2 separate regions of the Homo sapiens genome follow, and region 2 is linked to region 1. The links are contacts of gene promoters, found by promoter capture Hi-C in blood cells and fetal thymus (Javierre and others, 2016). All regions are on one chromosome and are shown on one strand. The core of a region is centred on a gene start or on the middle of the fragment in contact, and the rest is flanking DNA. Distances in the headings are between cores, read along the strand shown.

What was found. Contacts are between HindIII fragments. The CHiCAGO score rates a contact against its expected background, and 5 or more counts as called.
Region 2: a contact is called between the fragment with the promoter of BNIP5 here and the fragment with the promoter of LHFPL5 in region 1, in 2 of 17 cell types (total CD8 T cells and fetal thymus). The highest score is 6.7, in total CD8 T cells.

What each region holds. Positions count from the first base shown.
Region 1 is chr6:35,801,570-35,809,321 of GRCh38, reverse strand. It overlaps LHFPL5 (LHFPL tetraspan subfamily member 5), which reads right to left and starts at 3,970. Exons shown (of 4, transcript NM_182548.4): 1 at 3,240-3,970. The coding sequence starts at 3,651. RefSeq lists a silencer at 3,932-4,101. The HindIII fragment of the contact is 6,136 bases long and covers 3,849-7,752 here.
Region 2 is chr6:36,332,421-36,340,172 of GRCh38, reverse strand. It overlaps BNIP5 (BCL2 interacting protein 5), which reads left to right and starts at 3,285. Exons shown (of 12, transcript NM_001010903.5): 1 at 3,285-3,461. The HindIII fragment of the contact is 11,027 bases long and covers 1-5,016 here.

The DNA of each region.
Region 1 (7,752 bases), core at 2,721-5,220:
TGAATTTCTGTTGTTTTAAGCCCCCTAATCTATGGTAATTTGTTATGGCAGCCCTGACTAAATAGAACTAAGTAAAACTGACTAAGACATGAGGTTACCAAGACTCAGAGAAGACAAGCAGTTTGGTCTACCTGTGTTTCTAGGAGCTGGGACAACTCCCAGCCTACACCTGGCACCCAGAAGCCCAATTAATCTTGTTAAGCTGCAGCCCCACATCGCCCAAGCATCAGTCCTCCTTGCCCCTGCCCCCTCCCTGTTCCCAGGCTTCTTGGCAAGGGTACTAATGAATAGATGTATCTCCCAGCTGCTGGATATGGGACCCGCCCACTCTGCATCTCTCCCTTCGGCTCATTTCCCCTTCCGCAGCACAGCAGAATGGAACATGACACCAGTCTTGCCTTCCCTAACATAAATGTTGCATGAGATGGCACCTGGCCACCTCTGCTATCAGTGTCTCCAGCTTTTCTACCCAGATAGTGTCTGACTCAGATGGCCTGTCAACCCCTCCCCCTCCTGGCACTGCCTGCTCACACATGGCACCTGTTGGGGGATGTTTCAGGGAAGGGGGGTTTGCAGACAGCCCTGAGAATGAGAGAGATGGTTGTGTCTCCAGCATCCCATAACCCTGATAGGGAAGAAGAGCTGGCAAGCATATTAGGGTCTATTTCACTCCTCTTTGGCATAAAACTACTAAATCTTCATTTTCCCTTTGTTCATATATATATATATATATATATATATATATATATATATATATGTATAAAATGAATATATAGTAAAGAATATATATATATATACTCAATATTTTTATTAACCCAGCTAATTTTTGTATTTTTTGTAGAGACACAGTTTCGCCATGTTGCTCAGGCTGGTCTCGAACTCCTGAGCTCAAGCAATCTGCCCACCTCGCCCTCCCAAAGTGCTGGGATTACAGGCCTGAGCCACTGCAGCTGGCCTTATTATTATTTTTATTTATATATATTATTTATTATGATTATTTTTAATTTATATATATATATATATAAAATAGAGATAGGGTCTCACTATGTTGTCCAGGCTGGTCTTGAAGTCTTGAACTTCTGGCCTCAAGCAATCCCCTCTCCTTGGCCTCCCAAAGTGCTAGGACTACAGGCATGAGCCGCTGTGCCTGCCCCCACCATCATTCTTGACATGGCCACCACCTACCTTGCTCCCCACTGCCCACCCCTGCCCCGGCCTCTCTCTTATCATACAGAGAGACTACAGAGAACAGGGAGGTGGCAAGGGGATTTGCTGGGAACTCTGAAGCCATGTGAGTAGCCTGGGTGCAAGATTTGGAATCAAAGGTGCATGCCTTCCTACTTGTATGCTCAAAGACAAGTTACCCACTAGGGGCCTTCTTTGTAAAATAGATAAATACCCACCTCAATGGGTTGTGCTGGGGCTCCTCCAGATATTATATGTAAAGATATTTCATAGATCATTATACTTATGTAAATATGTGGCTCAGTAAAAACATCTTAGGAATACATCTAGTTCCTTGGTCCTCAGTTGCCCGCTTAATTCTTCCTGGTCCTCAGGTGCCTGCTGATCTGCTACAGCCTTGGCCAAGTCTGGTCCTTTCTCTCAGCAGCAGATTCCTCATCTATAGTTGGGGGGTGGATATAGCTCTCTGGGGTCCCCTCCAACTCTGCAGTCTTGAATCTGCATGTTTGGTGGTCTGGGATTCAGATGCCTGTTTCAGTCTCCCTCTTAAAGATGACAGCACTTCTCATTCTGACCAATGAGATGGTTTCACTCTAGTTTCCAGTCCCCGGCACTACTCCTGGACATCTCACCGACATGGACAGTTTGTGGCCCCTGAGGTGTGCAGGGACCAAGGTACCAGAGGCTGCAGCACAAGGTCTTAACCCTCTTCCTGGGCTACAGAGAAGAGCAAGACCACTTGGCACAAGGACCAAGAAGCCTTCCTGAGCTAGAAGCAGGAAAAAGGACCAGGGAGGTTTTGCCTCAAGGCACAAGTAGCTGCCTACCCCACAGTTTTATTTGTTTTATTTTATTTATTATTATTATTATTATTTTTAGAGACAGGGTCTTTCCATCTTGCCCAGTCTAGTCTCAAACTCCTGAGCTCAAGTGATGCTCTCTCCCAAAGTGCTGGGATTACAGGTGTGAGCCGCTGTGCCCAGCCCCCACATTGTTTTAAAGGACCCTAGGCCAGGTGCTGTGGATCACATCTGAAATCCCAACACTTTGGGAGACTGAGGCAGGCAAATCACTTGAGCCCAGCAGTTCAAGACCTGCCTGGGCAACATGACAAAACCCCGTCTCTACAAAAAATACAAAAAAAATTAGCTAGACATGGTGGTGCGCACCTGGAGTCCCAGCTACTTGGGAGGCTGATGTGAGAGGATCACCTAAGTCCAAGGAGGTTGAGGCTGCAGTCAGCTGAGATCATGCCACTGCACTCCAGCCTGAGCCAAAGAGTGAGACTCTGTCTCAAAAAACAAACAAACAACAACAACAACAAAAGGACCCTAAATAGCTTCCTCTACCTCACAAAATATCACTCCATTTGCTGCCTTAAGTATAAAATCCCATGATCAAGGAAAAAAGACTTTCACTCCACAATGAAAGAGGGGAATTTAGATGAAAGTTTCTATAGGCAAGGTCATACCCTGCATAATAGTAACACTCCAAAATCAGCAAGAGACCTTAGAATCTGAGAGCAGTTTGGAGTGGGAGAGAGAGAATGAGGACAGAGTTCTGGGCACTCTTAAAAAGAACAAAAGCCCAGAGGTGGGAGATGAAGGCATCTAGAATGTGCTTGACTGGTGTCACTACTTTGTGCTAGGGTTGAGTCCTATTCCCACATGGCCAACAATGGAAGCTTCCTTCTTTCTCTCTCTCACAGCTGCAAAAACTGATGTGATGGCCTGGGAATCAGGACTGGCAACTGTGTGCTCCTGGGCAAGTCACTTCCCCTTACAGATGAGGTTCTGGGCTCAGATGAGGTTCTGGGCTCAGAACCTCATCTGTAGGATGAGAGGGTTGGACAGCTTGGTCTCTAAGGTCTTTTCTGCCTCTGCCATTTTAAGATTCTCAACTCCTCAGAATCTTCTGCAGAGCACTGAGTAGGACTGGGCTATAGGAGAACAGCTAAATTTAAGGCCCAGAGCCCTGGCAGAGGCTGGGATGGTGCAGCTGCAGCTGTGGCCCCGGGGTGGGCCCCTGCCTGCCCTCCCACCATCTCTGCTTACCCGCAGCCAGCTGCATCCATGCACAGATCTTATAGACTGTGGCCGTGTTGCAGATGAAGAACAGGCTGAAGCAGATGATGGAGCCAATGATGAGGAACATGCCCAAGGCCACAAAGAACATGGCAGTCTTGAAGGCTCTAGAGGGGATGGAGGAGAAGTCTAGGGGGCCGCCCTTGCAGATGAGCTCGGAGGACAGCACGTTACCCACGCAGTAGGAGAAAAGGCCGAAGTAGCCTGCCTGCGGTGTGTTGACGCTGTCGCCGATCCAGTAGGGCTGGATGAAGAGGGCCATGACCAGTACGGAGAAGCAGATGGTGAGGGTACCCCACATCACGCCCACGGCTCGCGAGTTCCGCACATAGTTGGTATGGTAGATCTTGGCTGCCTCCTGGGCCGGCAGCAATTTCACCATGGTGAGGGCAGCAGGCCCTGGGCTGGGGTCCCGTGGGCTGCAAGTCCGTAGCTTTGTGGATGGAGGCCTAGAAGCAGGTCACTCCCCAGCGGGGTTTGGGGAGGAGGCTGAGGTCAGGGCACCAGGTGAGGTCCCTTCAAGGCAAGGGGAAGAGGCTTAATAGGACAAGGACAACCTTGATTTGGTCAAGGAAAGCTTGCCAGGTGCCTGTGTCCGCTCTAGCCGAGGCTGTCTCCAGTCTCCTGCCTCCTCCCAAGCCCACCAGGGCCTGCTGGCGCCGCCCTGCCCGTCTCCCTCTTCCCGGCTCACGGCTCCCGAGAGCCCCGCCCCCTCCTCCGTCCGCGGAGGGCGCCGTTTCAGCACCGCGGCCAGCGCCCCGGGGTTCCGGGCGAGGGGCGGGGCCTGCAGCAGAGGCGGGGAAGGGGCAGAGCTCCCACTACAGGCCCCCGCCGCGGGGAATCGGAACACCGTTCACCTTCCTGAACCGAGATGACAAGAATTGGGAAGGTGGGGATGTGACTGACACATTCCTACTGCTCAATTCCAGCAGCAAAAACGCTTTCCCCCCGCAAAAGCGCTGTCCACATCCCATCCCACCCCGCCCCTGCCTGGCTCCCTAGTCGCCTTCCCAGAACCTCCAACTCCACCACTCCGGAGGTCAGCAAAGCCTTTCCTGGTTGCCTTCTGGTCACCGGTTTTTCGTCCTTAGCATTCAGTCAACGATTTCTAAAAGCATACTATGTGTTAAGATTATGTTGGAGGACATCTAAGCAAAACCACAGATAAAAAAGACAGGGCCCCCGTCCTCAAAGACAGTGAAATATTTACATATATAATATACGTATATATGTAGTCTATATAAATATATATATAAAACGCCTGTATATGCAGACTGATTGTGTGATAACAGAAGCAACTACAAAGTATAGCAGACAACATTCTTTATGAGCCTTCTCAGACCTGAACATATGTGTTTTGTCAAATACAATGCCTTTCTCCCCTTGTTTCTATTTGTTTGTTACATATTTCCCCATTTAAATATATATATGTTTTAATATATTATATATATACATATTTCTCCTGATTTTATAGGTAAATACATGGCTAGTGTAAAGAACTAGGAAAATTCCACTGGGCGTGGGGCTTACGCCTGTAATCCCAGCACTTTGGAAGGCCAAGGCAGGCGGATCATGAGGTCAGGAGATCGAGACCATCCTGGCTAACACAGTGAAACCCCGTCTCTACTAAAAATACAAAAAAATTAGCCGGGCGTGGCAGCACGCGCCTGTTGTCCCAGCTGCTGGGGAGGCTGAGGCAGAAGAATGGTGTGAACTCGGGAGGCGGAGCTTGCAGTGAGCCGAGATCGCGCCACTGCACTCCAGCCTGGGTGACAGAGCAAGACTCCGTCTCAAAAAAAAAAAAATAATAATAATAATAACACCAACGTCCGGAGCTAAGGAAAGACAAGACAATCTTAAAAACATGGACTTTGGGGTTCAACAGGCCTGGATTTGAATGAGCTACTTACTAAGTAACCATCCATGGACTTAACCTTCCTTCCGGAGCCTCAGTTTCGCCATCTATTAAATGCAGGAAATGCACTTACGCCGGGCGTAGTGGCGGGTGCCTGTATTCCCAGCTACTCAGGAGGCTGAGACAGGAGAATTGCTTGAACCCCGGGAAGCAGAGGTGGCAGTGAGCTGAGATCGCACCATTGCACTCCAGCCTGGGCAACAAGAGCAAAACTCCATTTCAAAAAATAATAATAATAATTTTTTTTTTAAAGTGCTCAAAGGTACATTAGTGGTCTCTAATCCCAGCACTTTGGGAGGCCAGGCAGTCCGATCACTTGAGCTCAGGAATTCTAGACTAGCCTGGGCAACATAGCAAGACTCCCGTCTCTACAAAAAATACACAACTTAGCCAGGCATAGCCAGGCATGGTGGTGCTTGCCTGTAGTCGCAGCTACTTGGGAGGTTGAGGTGGGAGAATCACTGGAGCCCAGGAGGTCGAGGCTGCAGTGAACCATGATCACACCACTGCACTCCAGTCTGGGCTTTAACAAAAAAAGAGAAAGTACTCAAAAATGTTGGTGATTATTATTATTACCATTGTTAATCTCTGCAGTTTCCCCCTTCTGAACATACTCCTTTACACAATTGGATGATGTATGTACAATTTTATTTTATTTTATTTTATTTTATTTTTATTTTACTTTTCTTGAGACAGAGTTTCACTCTTGTTGCCCAAGCTGGAGTGCAATGGCATGATCTTGGCTCACAGCAACCTCCGCCTCCCTGGTTCAAGCGATCCTCCTGTCTCAGCCTCCCAAGTAGCTGGGATTACAGGCATGCACTGCCATGCCCAGCTAGTTTTTTGTTTTGTTTTGTTTTTTGTTCTTTGAGACAGAGTTTTGCTCTTGTTGCCCAGACTGGAGTGCAGTGGCGCGAACTTGGCTCACGGCAACCTCCACCTTCCTGGTTCAACTGATTCTCCTGCCTCAGCCTCCTGAGTAGCTGGGATTACAGGCATGGCCGCCACACCCAGCTAACTTTGTATTTTTAGTAGAGACAGGGTTTCTCCATGTTGGTCAGGCTGGTCTCGAACTCCCAACCTCAGGTGATCCACCTGCCTCGGCCTCCCAAAGTGCTGGATTACAGGCATGAGCCACCGTGCCCGGCCGTATGTACATTTTTTTCACTTAGCATTATAATGTTAATATTTTCTCCTATTACTTTTTTTCCCTTTGGTATGTTTTGTCAGTTTCACATTTTTTTTTTTTTTTTTTTTAGACAGAGTTTTGCTCTGTCACCCAGGCTGGAGTACAGTGGCTCAATCTCAGTTCACTACAACCTCCACCTCCCGGGTTCAAGCGATTCTCCTGTCTCAACTTCCCAAGTAGCTGAGAGTACAGGCATGAGCCACCATACCCAGCTAATTTTTGTATTTTTAGTAGAGGCGGGGTTTCACCATGTTGGCCAGGCTGGTCTCGAACTCCTGACCTAAAGTGATCCACCTGCCTCGGCCTCCCAAAGTGCTGGGATTACAGGCTTGAGCCACTGAGCCTGGCCCTTCACTTTTTCACTTTATTTATTTTTTTTGAGACGAAGTCTCACTCTGTTGCCCAAGCTGGAGTGCAGTGGCGCAATCTCGGCTCACTGCAACCTCCACCCACCTCCCGGATTCAAGTGATTCTCCTGCCTCAGCCTCCCAAGTAGCTGGGACTACAGCCGTGAGCCACCACACTCAGCTAATTTTTGTATTTTTATACAGACAGGGTTTCACTATGTTGGCCAGGCTGGTCTCGAACTCCTGACCTAGTGATCCGCCCGCCTTGGCCTCCCAAAGTGCTGGGATTACAGCTGTGCCCGGCCAGTAAGGTTGTTTTGTTTAATTTTGTTTTGTTTTGTTTCGTTTTATTGAGACGAAGATTCGCTCTTGATGCCCAGGCTTGAGTGCAATGGCACAGTCTCGGCTCACTGCAACCTCCGCCTCCCAGGTTCAAGCGATTCTCCTGCCTCAGCCTCCCAAGTAACTGGGATTACAGGCATGTGCCACCATGCCTGGCTAATTTTGTATTTTTAGTAGAGATGGGGTTTCATTATGTTAGTCAGGCTGGTCTCAAACTCCTGACCTCAAGTTATCTGCCCGCCTCGGCCTCCCAAAGTGTTGGGATTACAGGCGTGAGCCACCGCACCTGGCTCAGGTTGTTTTTAATAGTAAAAAAGTGGCTGGGTGCAGTGGCTGGCTCACACCTGTAATCCCAACATTAATAATAATTTTGAAGCTAGCTTATGTATTAAAGATTTTACTTACATTACATAAACTTGAAACAGCATTTGACTAGTCTTTTTTCCTGATAAAGTGTTCAAGTGCTTTTATTTTCTTAAGCCAATTAGAGCTCTTTTATTTATTTTCAGTAGTGAAACACTGTGCACACCACCCATAAATACATAGACATATCAGGCATGCCTATAGAAGTACATCTTACAGATTTATAAAAACCTTTTTTTTTCCTATTTTAATCTTTCAGATTCTTTTTGTTTGTTTTTGAGATGGAGTCTCGCTCTGTCACCTAGGCCGGAGTGCAGTGGTGCAATC
Region 2 (7,752 bases), core at 2,036-4,535, 530 kb before region 1:
CTATCTGGGGGTGGAATTGCTGGGTCACAGGGCAGGTGTTTGTTCAGCTTTGATAGATATTGCCAGCCGATTTTTCCAAGTAGTTGCACCATTTTCCACTCCCACCAGCAGCGTATGAGAATTCTGTTTGCCCCACATGGGCTCTGACACTTGGGATTGTCCGTCTGAGAATGACAGCACAGCAGTATGGCTGAGTCCCGCAGACATGCGGTGAGAAAAGCCAGGCATAAAAGAAAACATGCAGACCGATGATGCTCAAAAATAGGCAAAACTAATCTAATCTGGGAGTCGTGAGGGCAACAAGGTGGGTTCTGGGGTGCCAGGAATGTTCTCTTTCTTCATCTGGGTGGTGGTTACACAGGTTTATTCCCTTCGTGAAAATTCATTGAGCTGTCTGCCTGTGATCTGTGCACCTTTTTATACGTTATACTTAAATAAAAATTTTAAAGATATTCTCTCTCAATCTCCCTCTCTCTCCCTCTGCCATCTTCCCTCCCAGCACATGGTTGGGAACTGTCACCTTCAGAGCCCCCTTCAAGGCTGTGTGACCTGGACTGTTGCACAGGGTGTGCACTCAGAAGGGCAGGGGGCTTGGTTTAATGTTCTGCTGTCTGTCTTGAAACTATTAATACGTTTTGAACAAGGGTGCTTTGTTTTCATTTTGCATGGGGGCTCACTCGTAGTGTAGCCGACCTTGGCCCTGGGACAGGCAGCTGCCAGAGTCTGTCTCCAGATCGTGGAGATCGTCTCCAGGATATGGTCTTTGGCAGGCACTGAGCACAGGGCTAGGTTGCCCCCCGGACCCCTGATGGAGAAGGCGTGGGATGCCCAGAGCTGCCCATGATGGTTCTCCCTCCCGTGAGAACCTAGGAGCGTATGTACCTGCAGATGGGATTGCTGGGTACATGGGAGATGTCTGCACGGTGTGCCACGTGGCTGTCTGCCCCTCCCCTTCTTTTTATTGTGGTAAAATATGCATGACATAAAGTTGACTGTTGTAACCTTTTTAAAGTGTACGGTGCAGTGGCATTAAGCACATTTTGATTGTTGTACCACTCTCCACCATTGAACCATCTCCAAACTCAAAAGTTGAGTTTGAGTGTGCCTTGTGAAAATCCTCCACATCTCAAAAGTTGTGGAGATGGTTGAATGGTGGAGGTAGTGGTACCACATTCCTCTCAAACTGAAACTCTGTACGCATTAAACAACTTCCTATTCCCTTCTGCTTGCTTGTATGATTTTTCTCTGTGTGTTTCTCTCTTCCCAACTACTTTATGGACTCCATGAGGGCTGGGCCAGGCTGGGCATATTCACCTTGGAATAAGAAAGAACACATACAATACACACAGGGCCTGGAAGAAGTGGTTGACACAATAGTTTCATTAAATAAATGAAAAATATGTAATATTATTTAACATTTGTTTGAAGGCTGAGTGACTTCTTGGACTAATAAATTCTAAATTTAGTGCTGAGACAGTGTCTGTCACATAGCTGGATCCAAAACCTGTTGACAGAATGAATGAAGCATTAATAACTCTGTTGCCCGTAATAAAACATTGGCCCTTTATTGAGCCCTTACAAGTACCAGGCACTGTTAATACACAGAAAGAAAGATGTCTGGCACTCCATACATTTCCTTCCTTCCTTTCCTTCTCTTTCTTCCTTCCTTTCCTTCTCTTTCTTTGTTTCTTTCTTTCTTTCTTTTTCCTTCCTTCCTTCCTTCCTTCCTTCCTTCCTTCCTCCCTCCCTCCCTCCCTTTCTTCCTTTCTTTCCTTCTTTTTTTCCTTCCTTTCCTTCCTTTCTTCTTTTTTCCTTTGAGACAGGATCTCACTCTGTTGCCTAGGCTGGAGTGCAGTAGCACGATCATGGCTCACTGCAGCCTTGACCTCCTGGGCTCAAGCAATCCTCCTGCCTCAGCCTCCTGAGTAGCTGAGACTACAGGCATGTGCCACCATGCCTGGCTAATTTTTAAAATTTTTAGTAGAGATAAGATCTCACTATGTTGTCCAGGCTGGTCTTGAACTTCTGGGCTCAAGCAATCCTCCTACCTTGGTCTCCCACAGTGCTGGGATTACAGATGTGAGCCACCATGCCTGGCCTTCTTCTTTTCTTTGTAAGCATTATCGCATTTGGCCCAACTACCCTCTGAGATGACTACTTGTTTTATAAGTGAGCACAAGCTCAGTGACATCATGTCCCCTGCTGTGGTTACACAGCTGGCAGGTGTCTCCAGATGGGGCTGACTCCAAAGTTTGGTGCTTCCATATATATTTTGTGATGCCTCCCTGTGTTAATGAACCAAAACAGAATTTCTTAATATTTTTTTCTTTTTTTTTCTTTTTTTTTTTTTTTTTTTTTTTGAGACAGAGTCTCACTCTGTCACCCAGGCTGGAGTGCAGTGGCACGATCTCAGCTCACTACAACTTCTGCCTCCTGGGTTCAAGTGATTTTCCTGCCTCAGCCTTCCAAGTAGCTGGGATTACAAGTGTCTGCCACCATACCTGGCTAATTTTTGTATTTTTAGTAGAGATGGAGTTTCGCCATGTTGGCCAGGCTGGTCTCGAACTCCTGACCTCAGGTGATCCGCCTGCCTCAGCCTCCCAAATTGCTGGGATTACAGGTGTGAGCCACCGTGCCCGGCCTTTGCTTTCATTTTAATAAAACATGTTTTTCTTTTCTGATTATAAACATGTATTTACACTCTATTTTTTAAAATAAGGCATTACAGAAAGTGGAAATCTGACTTTTTAAGACTTCTTAGAATGTTCTCTCAAGATCCATGGCAACCCTTCCCGGGCATAGCAGATCTGGAACACGTGGCTCTTGTGGGCTCTTCCTTCTGGGTTGTCTCCAGGTCAAGGGATGTATGTATCCCATCGCTGACCTTTCTTTCTAGGTACCTCCCTCCCCACTAATCTTCAAAGATAACTGAGGGATGTTGTAAAGGCAATAAAGCCACCTCGACTTTCTCCCCCTAACCTGCATTTCCCATTAAGTCTTGTTTTCAACTCTACAGGTGGGGTTTTCCCCAGCCAGACCTTAGGTTATTTTCTGAGCTTTGGTTTCTTACTGGGGTTTGGGTGCAATAAGGAAGTTGACAAGTGAAACTGTTTTTTCCAGGGTAGCTGAGCTAAGCCTCTTATCATTGGAGGAGCGGGGAGCAGTCCTGGGATGGGTGGTAACAGGTGGAGGAAGGTGAGCCAGCCCATGGCTCTCTGGATTGGCTGCCATGAGCTCAGTTCCTGGGAGATACTGTATATATGGACGGCCAAAGCATCTTCTGAGACACTCAGAAAATTGCCAGCACCAAAGTAGTGGCATCTTCTCCCTGGGAGAGCTGGGTCTGACTTCTCACTGGACACAACTTCCAGCTGACAGGGAGCAGAGCCTAACACAGAGACCTCTTGTCTGAAGATCCCAGCCCAGGGTGTTCAGGACAGAAGCGATTTCTGTGGTCCAAGGTTGGTTGAACAATACCCTCTCCTTTGGGGGCGGGAGCAGTGGGTATGTATCTTGGGGTCCGGAGAAGAGTTTAGTCCTGGGTGTCAAACCAAGAGTCCAGTCCCAATGCTGCTTCCAGCATGCTGGGCCCTCCCAGAGAGGCAATGGGGGTGGAGGTGGGGGATCAGTTTTCTTATCTCTAAAAAGAGGGAGCAAGGTTCAATGACATTATCTCAACGGGGTGTTTCTCAAAGGGCTCTGGGCTCACTCGGACTTAAAACTCTGTATTCAAGTCCCAATCCTGCTTATTAGCCGCCACCCTGAGCAAGGAACTTCACTTCCTTGGGCCTCAGTTTTCTTGTCTGTAGGATGGGGCAGCATTACATAGCTCACCTGCTAGTTTCCCTCAGGATGTGGTAGAGGTCAAGTTATAGACTTTATGTGAAGGTACATGAGGGAACCCCCTGATAAATGAGAGGTGTTATTATGACCTATGGTTAAATTAAGGTTCTATGAGTTTTAAGGTTTTTGGAAGTTAGTCCAAGAATGGGGAAATCTTATTAAAATAACTCATGGTCTACTGCTCTCTTGGATGGGAATGTAGAGGCTGGGAGGTGGATTATAACCCACAGTCCTGACCGACTCCTCACACAGTGTTGCATTGCCCGTGGTCTTGGATAGAGGACAGAATGGGGTGGGGAGGGCATGGGTGTCTATACCTAGGCACACGTGATTGTGTGACTCCATGTGCATAGGTCATGGTAGGTGTGTATGTGACTGTGATTACCTCCATCAGTGTGAAATAGCAGGTTTCTCCCCTAAGTCCATGTGTAAGTGCGTGCATGTGTATCTATGCTTACATGAGGCCATTTGGTGTAGAATAGAGAATGTAGGATTTGAATCGGGAGAAGTGGGAGAGTCTCAGCTCTCTGCTTCCCGGCTATGTGACCTTGGGCGTGTCTCTTAATGGTCCGGAGCCTCAGTGCCCCACTGTTAGCCCATCTGATTCACTGCTCCTGGCAAAGATGAAATGAGATCATGTCAATGAAACGGCTCTCTGGACGCCGTGTGGCTGCATGAAGGTGAGCTGGTTTGGGTTTGCACATGCCTGTGTATCATTTGTTTGTTTCACAAACACTGAGAGCCTCCCAGGCTCAGGTCCCCTCTCATGGAATTTAGAGTTAGGACCGATGGCAAGCGGTGAGCTTGGTCACATAATTATTCCCTTACACTTGGGACAGGAGAAATACAGGGCGTCTTGAGTCCATGTTGGTCTGTGGTGTGCACAAGTGTGTTCTGGTGACACGTGGATGTCTGTGGTGTTGACTGTGGGTCCACGTGTGTGTGCCACACACTCTGTCCCTCAGGGTGCTGCTGTGGGTGTGCAGCAGGTTGGCTCTCTGTGAAGTTTCTATTGTGTGAATCATGGGGTGGAGAAGGGGAGCCGCGAAGTTATCTCCATGAAAGGCACCAGAGCAGTTAGAGAGTAACGCGGCCAGGTGAACAAATTAGAGAACAGCATAGAGATGAGGTCACCGTGCAACTTAGAAAGTAAACAACACACAGCAGCAAGCTTGGGGAAGGCAAGCAAACTTCCCGTTCCAGGGTCAGCTTTGTGAGCCTTCTCTGGTTCTTTGTTGCTGTTGCTGGACATGTCACCGGTAAATGTCACATCTTATCAGAAGCAGTCTTGTGATGTGCAGATCACTTGGGTATTTCTGAGCTGATTTGGACTTTGCTCTGACATCCACTTTCGGCCAAGGCAATAACAAGTTTACAAGATCAGCTGGGTTTCCGCATAGTGAGACCACGCTGCTCACTTAGGATTCCTGGTCTGGAGCACAGTCTGCACAGGGTGGGATTCCCTGGTGGTCGGACTGAACGTAGTTGAGCACCTGGGGCACAAAACAAAAAAAGAAGAAGAAAGGAAAGGAAAGTCTTGCTTTGATAAATCCTGGATAGCAGAATTTTATATTTGGAAAGTCTTGAACGGTTTAATTTTGGCACATGTAGGAAAGGGGAGGTTATTAGGATTAAAAGACAAGCTTCCCAGGGCTTAGAGACTGAGGACACCCCATCCGCAGAGGTTCTTCAGGGGTCTTCCTGGGGGCGTGTGGGTGTGTCTTCCCCAGTCAGCCGCGCTGTCTCAATCCCTGGCCTAGAGCTGAAGACAATCTTTGGAACATTACAGAGGAGGAGCAGTTGGAGCGGGGGAGAGGGAGGAGAGAGCTGGACTGAGGACAGTCACAGCCACCCAGAGAGGAAAGAGAAAAGAAGGAAGTAGGGCTGGTATCAAATACTGAAGCACGTAAGGGAGGACAAGACATGGGAAGAGGCCACTGGATTTGGAATTAGGAAACCTTGGGAGACCCTGGAATCTCTTCACTGGGGAAACTCTTGGATAGCAGAGGCCCCCTTCCTGCCTGCCTCTGGGCTCAGCAGCAGCAGCTGCGGGGGCTCCTGGCCTTAGTTCCTCTCATCTCCCCGGGGGCTCAGGGCACCGGTTATTCCAGGGAGGGAGCGGCCAAATCACCGCAGCTTTCCTGAAAAAACATCAGGGAAAGCATGTGCTGGTGGGATTGTGTTAATGTTCTGATCAGGAGGAGCAGCGTGTCCTTGGAATGTGGTAGGAGGATACTGCTGCCATTGGCAATGGCGAAAACCGTTTCCATAGCAATGACAGCTTTTTAAAAGATTACTGCATCTCTCTTCCCGTTAACTGGGTAAGGAAGCGCCGGTCCTCCGTGCGATGGGTCCCATGGAGCCAAATCTGTGCAGACGGAAGAGAGGCTGAGCTGAACAAGAGTGTCCTGGTTCTGTGGTTTTGTTAATGAACAGCTTCTCTGACAACCCCATCCAATTTTCCCTGACCACAGGAACATATGGAAAATGCAGAGAGAACCCTGACACCGTTCAGTAAATATTTCTGGTCAGCTTACTCTTTTTTAAATGTGAGCTTAAATCACATAGAACTTCAACCTAAATTTATCTTCTTTTAAGACCATGTGCCTCTGAAGAGAGAGCAGATGCAGGGGAATGGGACATTGCTGTCATCACTGTGTACTCACATCCTTATTCCTGCGCATTCAGAGAAGACCAGAATATTCCCTCTGGGGGCACACACTGCATCTTGTTCATGATTGTATCCCTAGCACTGAGCATAATTTCTGGTGCAGAGTGGGTGCTTATTAAATGTTGAGAGAAATAAGTGAGAACAAACATAAATATTTTCCTCTATGATCTCTTCTCCTTGTCCTACCCTGCATCGTCTTTGGAAACACAACCATAAGGCAGCCAGTCTCTGAGCCTTTCAGGAACATTAGTGAATTTCCATATAAGGTACAGATACATATTGCTAAAAGTTTCCATGTAGCCCAGATGTTCCTTTTAAGGAACATTAAACAACAAATAAGTCCTTTTAAATTGCCTGCCTCCTCCCCGACCTGATTTCTCATTTCCTCCAAGGTCGTCCACGTGTGGACACTCGGCCCCAATGGCCTCTGGCCTCAGCGACCTGGGGCTGCAATACCATCTGGTTTCCTTCCCATACTGGTGCTTGGAGGAGGGAAGGCATCCCAAATGTTCGTGTCACCTTCAAATATGTGTGTTCCCATTTCTTTTCTTCTTTCTCTGTATCTTCTTCACTTTCCTGTGGATCCCACACATAAGAAATCGCAATTATAGATTCTTATTTTTGCCTCTAAGCTGAGCATAGCAATAGAATACATTTTACAGTACATCCCATACCACTAAACATTACTTGGTCAATGCATGCTAAAGCTATAATGACAAATTAGAGCAGGCAACCTGTGGTCCTAAACTCCATAGGACTCTCCAGGGGCTCAGGTTTGGCATTCAAAACCATATTTTATTTTTCTTTTACCTTCCACTGAAGGGAAGAGGCCTTCTGAACAACTCTGGAAAAATTGGAAAGCCCCAAGAGTTTTAGATTAAAGACACACAAATCAAATGCACTGCCCACACCTAGGCGGGCTTGAAATGCTGCCCAGGTGGGAAAGGTTTTTTTTTTGTCATTTTTCATTGGCCGCTGCTTCATTCTGGATGGAGAATGGAAGAGCCCCCACTGCTCTAAGATGAAATTGGCCCGAAAGCACTGATTTCATGTTAACTACACATCCAAAGATACCTTACGTGTTGTGCCATTTACTAAATGTGTTATACATCTATTCATTTGTTTAATAAGTGCTTATTGAGTGGCAGTGATATGCTAGACATTGTTCTAGGCACTCAAAGATAGAAGACCTAGCAAAATAAACACAGGAGATGGAGAGAGACTCAGACAGGAAACAA